Linked DNA regions of Homo sapiens: all the other regions are linked to region 3. Evidence: promoter capture Hi-C in human tissues and cell types (Jung and others, 2019). All regions are on one chromosome and are shown on one strand. Each heading gives the region's core, a stretch centred on a gene start or on the middle of the fragment in contact. The rest is flanking DNA. Distances are from core to core; before and after follow the strand shown. Region 1 overlaps ANKFY1 (ankyrin repeat and FYVE domain containing 1). Region 2 overlaps ANKFY1 (ankyrin repeat and FYVE domain containing 1). Region 3 holds the start of SPNS2 (SPNS lysolipid transporter 2, sphingosine-1-phosphate).

The links. The method cuts DNA at HindIII sites, captures the fragments that hold promoters and counts their contacts. A contact is called where the count stands out against the background at its distance.
Region 1: a contact is called between a fragment that was not itself captured here and the fragment with the promoter of SPNS2 in region 3, in 3 of the 25 tissues and cell types used here (dorsolateral prefrontal cortex, mesenchymal stem cells and spleen).
Region 2: a fragment that was not itself captured here is called in contact with the fragment with the promoter of SPNS2 in region 3 in 5 of the 25 tissues and cell types used here (adrenal gland, dorsolateral prefrontal cortex, heart right ventricle and 2 more).

What each region holds. Positions count from the first base shown.
Region 1 is chr17:4,223,070-4,226,319 of GRCh38, reverse strand. All of the region lies in intron 3 of ANKFY1 (ankyrin repeat and FYVE domain containing 1), which reads left to right. It also overlaps the pseudogene RYKP1. Among named protein-coding and RNA genes, the nearest start is that of ANKFY1, 39 kb to the left of the region's middle. The HindIII fragment of the contact is 4,884 bases long and covers 1-3,250 here.
Region 2 is chr17:4,203,456-4,207,027 of GRCh38, reverse strand. ANKFY1 (ankyrin repeat and FYVE domain containing 1) reads left to right here. Exons shown (of 25, transcript NM_001330063.2): 7 at 542-707. Among named protein-coding and RNA genes, the nearest start is that of ANKFY1, 59 kb to the left of the region's middle. The HindIII fragment of the contact is 7,321 bases long and covers 1-3,572 here.
Region 3 is chr17:4,497,631-4,501,220 of GRCh38, reverse strand. It overlaps SPNS2 (SPNS lysolipid transporter 2, sphingosine-1-phosphate), which reads right to left and starts at 2,340. Exons shown (of 13, transcript NM_001124758.3): 1 at 1,804-2,340. The coding sequence starts at 2,173. It overlaps SPNS2-AS1 (SPNS2 antisense RNA 1), which reads left to right and starts at 2,486. Exons shown (of 3, transcript XR_001752763.2): 1 at 2,486-3,070; 2 at 3,506-3,590. RefSeq lists enhancers at 906-1,540, 1,541-2,176 and silencers at 2,218-2,267, 2,328-2,477, 2,488-2,547. The HindIII fragment of the contact is 11,191 bases long and covers 1-3,362 here.

The DNA.
Region 1 (3,250 bases), core at 740-3,239, 270 kb after region 3:
AAACTCTTAGCCTCAAATTATCTTCCCACCTCGGCCTCCCAAAGCTCTGGATTCACAGGCGATATCCACTATGCATAGCCTAGTTCTATCAATTCCTTAAAGGAGAGTGGTAACATCTATAATTTTAGAATTGTCTAGTTCTCCTTTTAATTTTTGTCAGTTTTTCTGCATATAATTTTTAGCCTCTATTATGTACATTTACATTTATAATTATGACTTCCTAAGGAATTGTTGCTTTTATCATTTTAAAATAATTTTTGCCAAGTTCAGTGGCTCACGCCTGTAATCCCACACTTGGAGTGGCTGAGGCAAGCGGATCCCTTGAGCCTAGGAGTTTGAGACCAGCCTGGGCAACATGGCAAAACCCCATCTCTTCCAAAAATGCAAAAAAATTAGCCAGGTGTGGTGGCACTCACCTGTGGTCCCAGTTACTTAGAAGGTTGAGGTGGGAGGATCACTTAGCCTGCAAGGCAGAGGTTGCAGTGAACTGAGATCACGCCACTGCAGTCCACCTTGGGTGACAGTGAGACCCTGTCTCAAAAAAAAATTATATAAATATATATATACACACACACCGAAGCCATAGGAGAGGAACAAAACGGGGAAACTCATCCAGTGCAGTTGCTGCTTCAAGTTTCGCCTCCCTCTCAGTTCAGCTGCTTTTGTTGACTTTTCCAAATCTTTAGGTCGTTGTTGTTTTGTACTCTGTCCAGAATTTTTAGCTATAATCAGTTAAAATGGGATGGGTTGTTCCACTGCCATAACAGAACTAGAACCTCTGTCCTTTTATTTCATTTTGACCCAGAGATTATTTAGAAATATGGTTTGAGGTTTAATTTTATTTCCAGGAGGTTATATTTAAGGATACATCCTTAAATTGACTAAAGAGGATGTTATTTATTGATAAAAATGATACTGTCTACCAAGATTTTTTAATTCTATGAAGCAAAAACTTTTCTTTTTGAGACAGAATCTCGCTCTGTCCCCCAGGCTAGAGTGCACTGATGTGATCTTGGGTCACTGCAACCTCTGCCTCCCGGCTTCAAGAGATTCTCCTACCTCAGCCTCCCGAGTAGCTGGGATTACAGGCATGCACCACTACGCTCGGCTACTTTTTGTAATTTTAGTAGAGAGGGGGTTTTGCCATAATTGGCCAGGCTGGTTTCAAACTCCTGACCTCAAGTGATCCGCCTGCCTCGGCCTCCCAGAGTTCTGGGATTACAGGTGTGAGCCACCACACCCAGCCTAAAAAGTTTTTTTTTTTAAATATAAAACAAATCCTTTAATTTTTCAAGTGTTTAAAAAAACAAGTTTATACTTAAGCCAGCCTTGAAGATAAGCACAAAATTTACCAGTTTATTTAAAAAAAAAAAAAAAACGACAACTCAAGCACCCACTCTGTGCATAGCACTATTCTAGGTGCAATAAACGGGAATCTTAACCTTAGAAATATGAGTCCACTTTCTGGAATTGTATTGTCTCCTTTTCCAGAGAGTAAAAATAAATAAAATCACCATTATTTACTACAGATCTGCCTCAAACCACTTCTGGTTCACAGAAAAGCTAATTTCCACCAAATTAAAGATGCAATGAACTCAGTTCCTGCTTTCCCAAAAACACGAAAGCAGAATTCCTTTTCACTAAAAAAAAACAAACAAACAGTTTTCCATGCAAGGGCAGTTTGCTTCTAATAAGTATTAAAAAAAATTTTTTTTCCTCTAGCTTTTCTTTAAATTTTCTTCCTCTCATATTGCCTTTTCTTGTACAAGACAAACCAGGTATCTTTTTATGCTGTTTTTCCTTTCCTAAGAAAAGTATTGCATCTTGAAGACAGGCCATTTCCAAGAGTAGTGATAAAAAATAACATTAAAAAAACTTCACCATCCTGGCTAACGCAGTGAAACCCCGTCTCTACTAAAAATACAAAAAATTAGTCGGGCGTGGTGGTGCGCACCTGTAGTCCCAGCTTCTCAGGAGGCTGAGGCGGGAGAATGGCGTGAACCCCGGGGGCAGAGCCTGCAGTGAGCCGAGATCGCGCCACTGCACTCCAGCCTGGGCGACAGCGAGACTCCGTCTCAAAAAAAAAAAAAAAAAAAAAAAAAAAACTTCAAAGGTGAGTCACTTACATCACCTTGATGAAGTAAAAAAAATAAAAAGCAGTTGGCACTAAGATAGCTACTTCCAAATATCTGTGTCTGAACAATTTTAAAAACTGTTCATTTTGTAACAATGTACCTCTAGTCCAAGGTAACTATGTTTTAAAAAATTTTGGCCAAAAAATTTACAAAAACCCTTTCAGTTCAACCTAATAAAAGTGATATCTAGAAAATATGCCACATTATTAAGTCTGTCTTAAAAAGTTCAGATTCTAAAGCATTGCTGAGGCACAGTGTTCTGGAAGACAAATGTGCTTCTGTTGGCGTGGTGTTAGATACAAAGCATCCATGACAGGCACCTTTCTCCTGATGCTGTGGGATTGCGAGAGAAGAGTCAGACGTAGGCCCCCAGGCCTGCATGAAACTGTGAGACACTGTACCAGCTGCTGAAACTTGGGCCTCTCCCCCGGATCTAAGGCCCAGCAACAGGCCATCACAGCAAATGGTTCATCAGGACAGTTGATTGGCTGGGCTATTCGGTAACCATCTTTCAGGTATGCGGCCATCTCGAAGGGGTCAGTGTCCATGTAGGGCGTCTGGCCCAGAGTCATGAGTTCCCACAGCATCACTCCAAAGGCCCCACACATCACTAGTGCTAGAAAACTCGTTATTAACCAGACTTTCAAGAGCCATCCAACAAACTGGCCTGTTTTCATTGTCCCCCAGACAGTGATAGTCCATGAGACGGCATTGTCTGTGATCTTAACTTGAAGTGTGTCATCAGTGATACAGTTCCTAGCAGCCAGGTCTTTGTGGATGACTTCCGTTCTGGCCAGGTAGCTCATTCCACAGGCAATCTGAATAGCCATGTGTACCAGGTCTTGTTGAGAAATTGCCTGTGGATTATTGGCCTCTACTAACTTGCACTGCCGTAAAAACAAGTGAAGATTCCCTCAGTTCATGTAAGGCAGTGTCACCATGGGCTTTTCTCGTATACACCCATGAGTAATAGGAAGAAGATTTCTGTGATGAAGACTTTGCAGCTTACGACTTTCAGTGAGCATCATTGTCACCTGAATTTCAGAAGCTTGATCTTTGTTTCGACCAATGCTTGTTTTTCTTTATTTGGATCTTTTTTATCTATTAAAATCCCA
Region 2 (3,572 bases), core at 206-2,705, 290 kb after region 3:
AACGTGGTATGTTTATAGGTTCTGGGGATTAGGACATGTCCGTCTTTGGGGGGGGTGATAATTCTGCCCACCATATGACCTTGAAAGAAATGTAATGGCTCTTGACAGATGGGAGCGAAGTATGTTTTATCCCGGGTGTCCAGTGTATGGGGAGACATTAAACTGCTGGGAAGAATGAAATAGGAACGCCACTGCCTTTCATGAAAACATTAGCTGTTCACCGTAAAACTCTCTGAGCCTCTGCCTGGCACTCGTGCCCCACAGCACTCTGTCCACATTTTCCTGGTGGCCTTTAATCGTCTCCCACATTGTTTATGTTGGCTATGTGGTCCCCATTAATTCTGTACTCCCTGAAAACATGTACCCTGAGGAAGCCTGATAGAAGTTTGTGAATAAAGTTGAATTTGGGGAGTAAGCAGTGTTGGAGCACTTAAATTTGACATTTGTATAAGAGATGATATTTAAGGGTCAAGGTGGGAGAAATTAAAATAGGTCGTATTCTCTACTCACTGGGCGCTAATTTACAAACTTGTTTGTGTAGCTCCCTGGGAAGCTGAATGAAGCGGATCATAACGGAGATCTGGCATTAGATCTAGCCCTCTCACGACGACTGGAGAGTATTGCCACCACGCTGGTTAGTCACAAAGCTGATGTGGACATGGTGGACAAGAGTGGCTGGAGCTTGTTACACAAAGGAATCCAAAGAGGTAGGAAGAAGTGTGTATGTTTCCCTGCAGGCAATTTTATTTTTATCCGAGTAATTTTTGAAGACTTTCTGACCTTGTTCCCAAAATTCTCAAAGGCTTCTGTAGTCTGTACTCACAGGCTACATGATCTAGAATTTGATCATTGGGTCAGAGGAAGCACTCAAGAGCTGTTGCCTATGCCGTGTTAGTTTGGCCATTCACCGTGCCAACAGGGCCCCAGAAAGAAAGGCTACAAAGATGGTACTTGTGTGAAGAAGTACCTTTTACTTGTAAGCACTTGATATGTTTGCTTGTTCAATGGATGGCTTTCTCCAGGAATTGTGCTAGGAAGGTTTTGCTTTTGTATTCTACCACAGATACAAGGATAGTAGCAAAACCATAAACCTTGAAACGTGTTCTTAGCTTCAGGGTTTTCACTTTAACAGGCTAGGCCTCTATTATGATAAATTGATAGAGTTTCATTTTGTTCTAGCAGAGTTATTTGAAATTGTAGCTATATTTTGAATGCATTGTTAATAGTTGGAAGAATACAGAAATGATAGACTTGAGAACAAAACATTTAAATCTTTTTTTTTTTTTGAGACGGAGTCTTGTTCTGTCGCCCAGGCTGGAGTGCAGTGGTGCGATCTTGGCTCACGGCAAGCTCCGCCTCCTGGGTTCATGCCATTCTCCTGCCTCAGCCTCCCCAGTAGCTGGGACTACAGGTGCCCACCACCACGCCCAGCTAATTTTTTGTATTTTTAGTAGAGACGGGGTGTCACCGTGTTAGCCAGGATGGTCTCGATCTCCTGACCTGGTGATCCACCCACCTTGGCCTCCCAAAGTGCTGGGATTAGAGGCGTGAGCCACCGCGTCCTCCCAGAACATTTTAATCTTAATGAATTAACTTGTCAAAGGAAAAAAAAAATACTAGGTTTTTGTTTGTTTTTTTCCATAGTCTTACTAATTCATGAGTCCCAAATGGATCTGGGCTGATTTTGCTTTGCAATGGTCATTTTAGACAGAGTGAAATCTGTATAGAGGTAGAGTTCCAGTGAGAAATGAAAGCTTTCCAAAGTGTCAAAGCGTTAGTTTTGTGGAGGGATGGTTGACTTGATTGAAGTGCATTGCCATGGCCACTTTTTTTTACTTACACGTAGACATCAAAGAGAGAATCTACTTGTTTCGTTCCATCTTAATCATCTATATTTTCCCCTTTTGATGATGCATTGTTATACTATTATTGTCTGTGCTACATTTTTGCCATTCACAAATTGCTCCTAGTTGGTGGAATGTAGTTACATCAAGATGTGGTCCTGTGCCAGCTTTGTCCTTTTTGGGCCAAGGTTTTAATACAAGTATCCTTATAAGCCATGTGCTGGAGTGCTGAGCTTGCTGGCTGGTAGAGAGGAAAATTTTGCTCATCACTGGGTAGGAAATCCTTCGAGTATGTCAGTGTCAAGAGCAGATGCATCTTCCTCAAGCACCGTTATGTGCTGTGCAAAGCCAGCGGGTGCTTAGCACTGAGTGTGATTCAGTGGGGAAATCTCCACCACGTAGGGAATGATTCTTTCCCACACTGTTTCGTGTCTGAGATGTTTATTTTGGAAACAGATACCCTGTTACTAAAAAAAAAAAATCTGAGAATTTTGTTTCTTTCCTCCCAGGGAGTTAATTCTTATGTTTGATGATAAATCATCTTTGAGTTATTAAATATTTTGGTGATTGCTTAGATACAAGAATTGCCAAGAATTAGTGATACATTTTTGATGTTTATTTTCAGATGATTTAACCTTCCACTCTGAGTTTATTAATTGCTTGCAAGTATGTGGATTACAGCGTGGGTATAATAAACTTGATTTTGCTAACTTTAGAGTGTTGCATATTACGGTAGACAGAGCACTGGCTTTATGAAGCTGGTATTCACCAAGGTTTGAATCTGAGCTCATCTGTTTACTCTGTGGCCTTGGACAAGTCACATTCTACGTCTTCCTTATCCATAAAGTGGGAATTACTTTTGCTTTATTGGTTTGTTCAGAGAATGCGAGGCAATGTTAGTAGTACACCCAGCAGTGATTACCAGGGGAATGGTGGGGTCAACCCTGCCATTCATCGCTTGCCCCTGCGTTGGAAATGCCATAACCAGGTCCAGTTCCTGTAGGAGTTTTTTTCACTTTAACTGTTAAAGAGTGAAAGTCTTTAATATATGAGATTTTGGTTTAGTCTGAGCACACATTAGAATCTGTCAACAAAATAGTCAGTGATCATCCTAATAACCAAGTATACCAGTCATTTTATCTAAAGAGTGGAACAGGCAGGCAGTGTCTTGGGGGAGTCCACAGGGGGCACATGTTTGGCCAGAGGGATGCCATCTCCTTGGATTAGCCTGATCTGAGCAAGAAGATGAGTCTTCACTTTATAAAAACAGTTCTTCCTGAACTTTTTTACCTTAATAACCAACATCAGTTGATGGGTTTCTTTTTTCTTTCTTTCTTTCTTTTTTTTTTTTTTTTTGTTGTTGTTGTTGAGACGGAGTTTCGCTCCTGTCACCCAGGCTGGAGTGCAATGGCTCGGTCTCGGCTCACTGCAACCTCTGCCTCCCAGGTTCAAGCGATTCTCCTGCCTCAGCCTCCTGAGTAGCTGGGATTACAGGCACCTGCCACCACGCCCGGCTAATTTTGTATTTTTAGTAGAGACTGGGTTTCTCCATGTTGGTCAGGCTGGTCTTGAACTCCCAACCTTAGGTGATCCGCCCGCCTCAGCCTCCCAGAGTGCTGGGATTAAAGACGTGAGCCACTGCGCCTGGCCGATGAGTTTCTTCAGTAGATTGTTCCTGTTATTTTTAGTAAATTTGAAAATGATGCCACCAACTGGAGCAGCATGAAA
Region 3 (3,590 bases), core at 1,091-3,590:
ACCATTCCTTCTTCAGCTGAGAAAGGGTGGGAAGACCTCCTCCCAGGCAGAGCCTTACTGTTAGAGCTAACACCAGCTTTGCCAGTCACTTTCCTGGCCATCTTGAACGGGGGCTGTACAGGGACATTGGTCCCCCTATCTGTGTACAGAAGCCTTTTGTGAACTGACTACAGGTCCCAGGTATTCTCTGATTTCTCCCCCAAAGGATGGCGCTTATGCTCCCAGGTCCCCGGCAGCATGGTGCATGCGTGACAGCGGCTGGCGTTTTTGGGAGGTGCTCAATATTCCTGCTCTCTAGACCAAAGTAAGTTTCTCTTTGGGATAGCTCGACCCAGAAACTGATGCCACTGGTACCCACTTCCAATTTCCTCCAGCGGAAGGACAGAGAGCCAAGGGGGGTTGAAAGCAGGAATGGGGGGAGGGGGAAGCCTCTGCCCTCCCATCAGAATTCTTCCCTTCCATTTGACACAAAACTCCATTCAACAGACGGGGAGACTGAGGCCCAGAGAAGGCACCAGGTGGCATGTGGTTTATGCCCGGGCTCTCTTCCCTCAATTGCCGCAAAGTTCTCTTTAGAGTCTGTCCAAAAATAAATCCTTCCCTCTCTCCTATCTCCTCTCTCTCTCTGTTGTGTGTGTGTTTGATAGCTCCAGATTTTACTAAGCTATAGTTACGCAGGTTCTGGGCCAGCATGCCAGGCACACAGTACTGCTCTCCTCCTGCAGGGAGCCCCTTCCTATGCCAGTCTGGCCAAAGTCCTTCCCTCTCAAAGCTCCACCATTCCCAACCAGTAGCAGCTCAGTCTAGGGCAAATTCTTACCCCTAGACCCACCCCTAATTGCTGGGGAAGGGAGCCAGCAGAAGGCAATTCCAGAACCACGTGCGTCCCCCAAAGGCCCAATGATCAATCAACTCACAAACGGGCAAACAGACCTAAACACACGCTGAGACTGGCCCAAGGTCACACACCAAGCACATTAGGAGCAAAGCTGGGGCTAGAACCCAGTTGTTCTATCGATCCCAATCCCGTCCCCAAGGCTGATTCCCAGAGATGCTCCCTGAGGATGAGGCTCCACGTCTCTAGCTCCAGAGGCCTGCGCCCTACCCTACACCCCAAGCACCATAGAGCAGGGGGAGGCGTCTCCAGGCCTCTGTACAGGGCCAGCTGCAAACCGCAGCCTGGGTCCCCAGGCGCCGCGGACCCGCCCCGCCCCTCCCTCCGCTCCCCGCAGCCCGGAGCCTTTGTCAGCCACGCGCTCACACACAACCGCGCCGCCACGCGCACACACACCCGGTCTCCCTAGCGCACACCCGCAAGGGGCGCGCGCACTCGCCGCACGCACGCAGGGGGGTGGAGGCGGCGGAGAAAGGAAGGAACTGACGGGCCATGGACGGACAGACGACCTGGGCTGGGGGAAGGGAAGGGAAGGAGGCCCGGGAACCGGCAGCTGGGGTCGGAGGGGGCGCAGAGACAAGGAGACAGAGAGACGCAGAGGAGACTCTTGGAGAGGAGGACAACGGATGGGCCGTCAAGGGCTGGAGAGGACGCGCGGGCTGCTCCAGGGGTGGGGACTCCTCTATCCCTTGGCCCCGGGTGTGTATGAGCGGGGAGCTGGATTGTACCCGTGGTGCACGGAGGCATCCCTTGCCCAGTTGTGCCTGAGCAGAGGGTCCGTAGGGACCTCACGTAGGGCCTGGAGATAGCAGGCCTGAGACCAAAAGCTCTCTGGGGTACCTCCCTCGAGGCGGGTGGTGGGATGGGGTGGGGTCTTGGTCCTCGGGCTGGGTGGGGCACTCGCTCACCTGCCACGGTGTACCTGTCCAGGTAGTTGAGCACGTTGCCCAAGCTGAGGATGGCGGCGGCTGCCCCCCGCCCGCGGCCCAAGCTGGCCGGTTTGGGCTGCTGAGCGCCGGGGCCCTTTGCAGTAGCTGCGCAGCCGGGGGTGCCGGGGGTGCCGGGGGGTCCGGTCGGGGCCCGCCTTACGCTGCCCGACAGCGTCTGCACCTCATCGCCCGCGGCCGAGACTCCAGCGCCGCCCGCGCCCCGCGCCCCGCAGCAACCGCTACCGCCAGCCCCTCGCTGCGCCCCCCGGCGCCGGCGCCGCCGCTCCGCGTCCGCCTCCTCCTCCTCCGCGCCGCCCGCCGCCGCCGAGGCGCATTCCAGGCACATCATGCCGGCCCGGATCGGGGCGGCGGGGGGCGCGGGGGGCGCGGGGCCCAGGCTGGGCCCGCTCAGCGCGTGCGTGCGCCGCGGAGCCGCCACTGCACCATCCTGGTCGGGCCCCGTCGGCTCCTGCGCTCCGGCCCCGGCTGCGGCGCTGCCACCGCTCAGCTCGCTGCGCCTCGTTCGCCGCCGCGGCTCTGACAGCTGCGGCCCGGCCCCGCCCACCAGGCCCGCGCCCAATCAGCTCCGGGCTCGGGCCACAGCCCCGCCCCGCACGTGCTGCCCTGGGGGTGGGGGGCCCGGGGACTGGGGGCCCGGGCGGCAGAGCCCCTCCTGCCAATGGGGGCGCAGTCACGCCGGGGCCGACCGGCCGCGAACGCCCGCGGGGAGCGGGAGAGGGTTTGCTCTGGCTACGGAGCTGGGAGCAGGGTGCTGGTGACGGGGCTCCCAGCACCTACTCAGTACCCTTCACCCAACCCCTGCCTCGGGCGTGGACTCCCGGCGGAGGCTCTGGGAGCCGGGCTGAGGGCTTGAGCCTAGCGTATCTGGGAGAACTGGAGAGAGGAGTCTCAGATGGCTAAAGTCAGGGGCGCCAGTTGGAGAGCCGGTGGCTCCTCCGATACTCACACGCCCGGATTTAACCAGTTCAGGGAGGGCCCAGAACCTAGACCTCCACCAGTCATGGTGGGCTGTGTCTCCCACCTCCCCAGGGCAACCCAGATCCAGCCCCCAACCTACCCCGGGCCCATTCCTGTGTGGGCACCCGGACCCTACCCTTGCCCCACAGAGTGGCCCGCAGCCCCTGGCGGGGAGAGCAAGGGCTGTGATTGGGGCCCAACAGAAACAGGATATTCAGAAGGGGCTTTCCCTCCTGAGGGACCACATCTCCAAGCTTCAGACTTCCAGGTATGTGCTAGAGAGGGTACAAAGCCCCCAGTGGCAGACAGGAGGCTGGGTCCTAGCTCAGCTCTGCCCTGGTGTGTGGCATGATCCTGAACATGACACCCACTCTCTGGGCCTCCATTTCTGTATCTGGGGGCAGATGGCAGGATGGGATTCAGTCTGGAAATCCACGGGTGGTCACCTCCCCTTGGTGGGACGGGGCGGGGGTCTGCCTCCTATGGAGAGTGGTTGGGGTGCTTCTGTGTTCCTGACATCCCATCACGGTTTCACCCCTCCTTAGAGGTGCTGTGGCTCTGTGACGATCTCCCCCTTCCCTCCCCCATTCACCTGTTTGGGGAATTAAAATCGAAATTAAAATCCTGTATAAAGTGCAGAGGACAGAATGTTAGAACTGGACAAACCCTCGGAAACCAGTTAATCATTCCCTGTGTTTCACAGACAAGTCCCAGGGCACGGACGTGACCCATTACGAACAGGCAGTGAAGCTGTGGCAGGGCTGGAGCTGCCCCAGGCTCTGGCATCA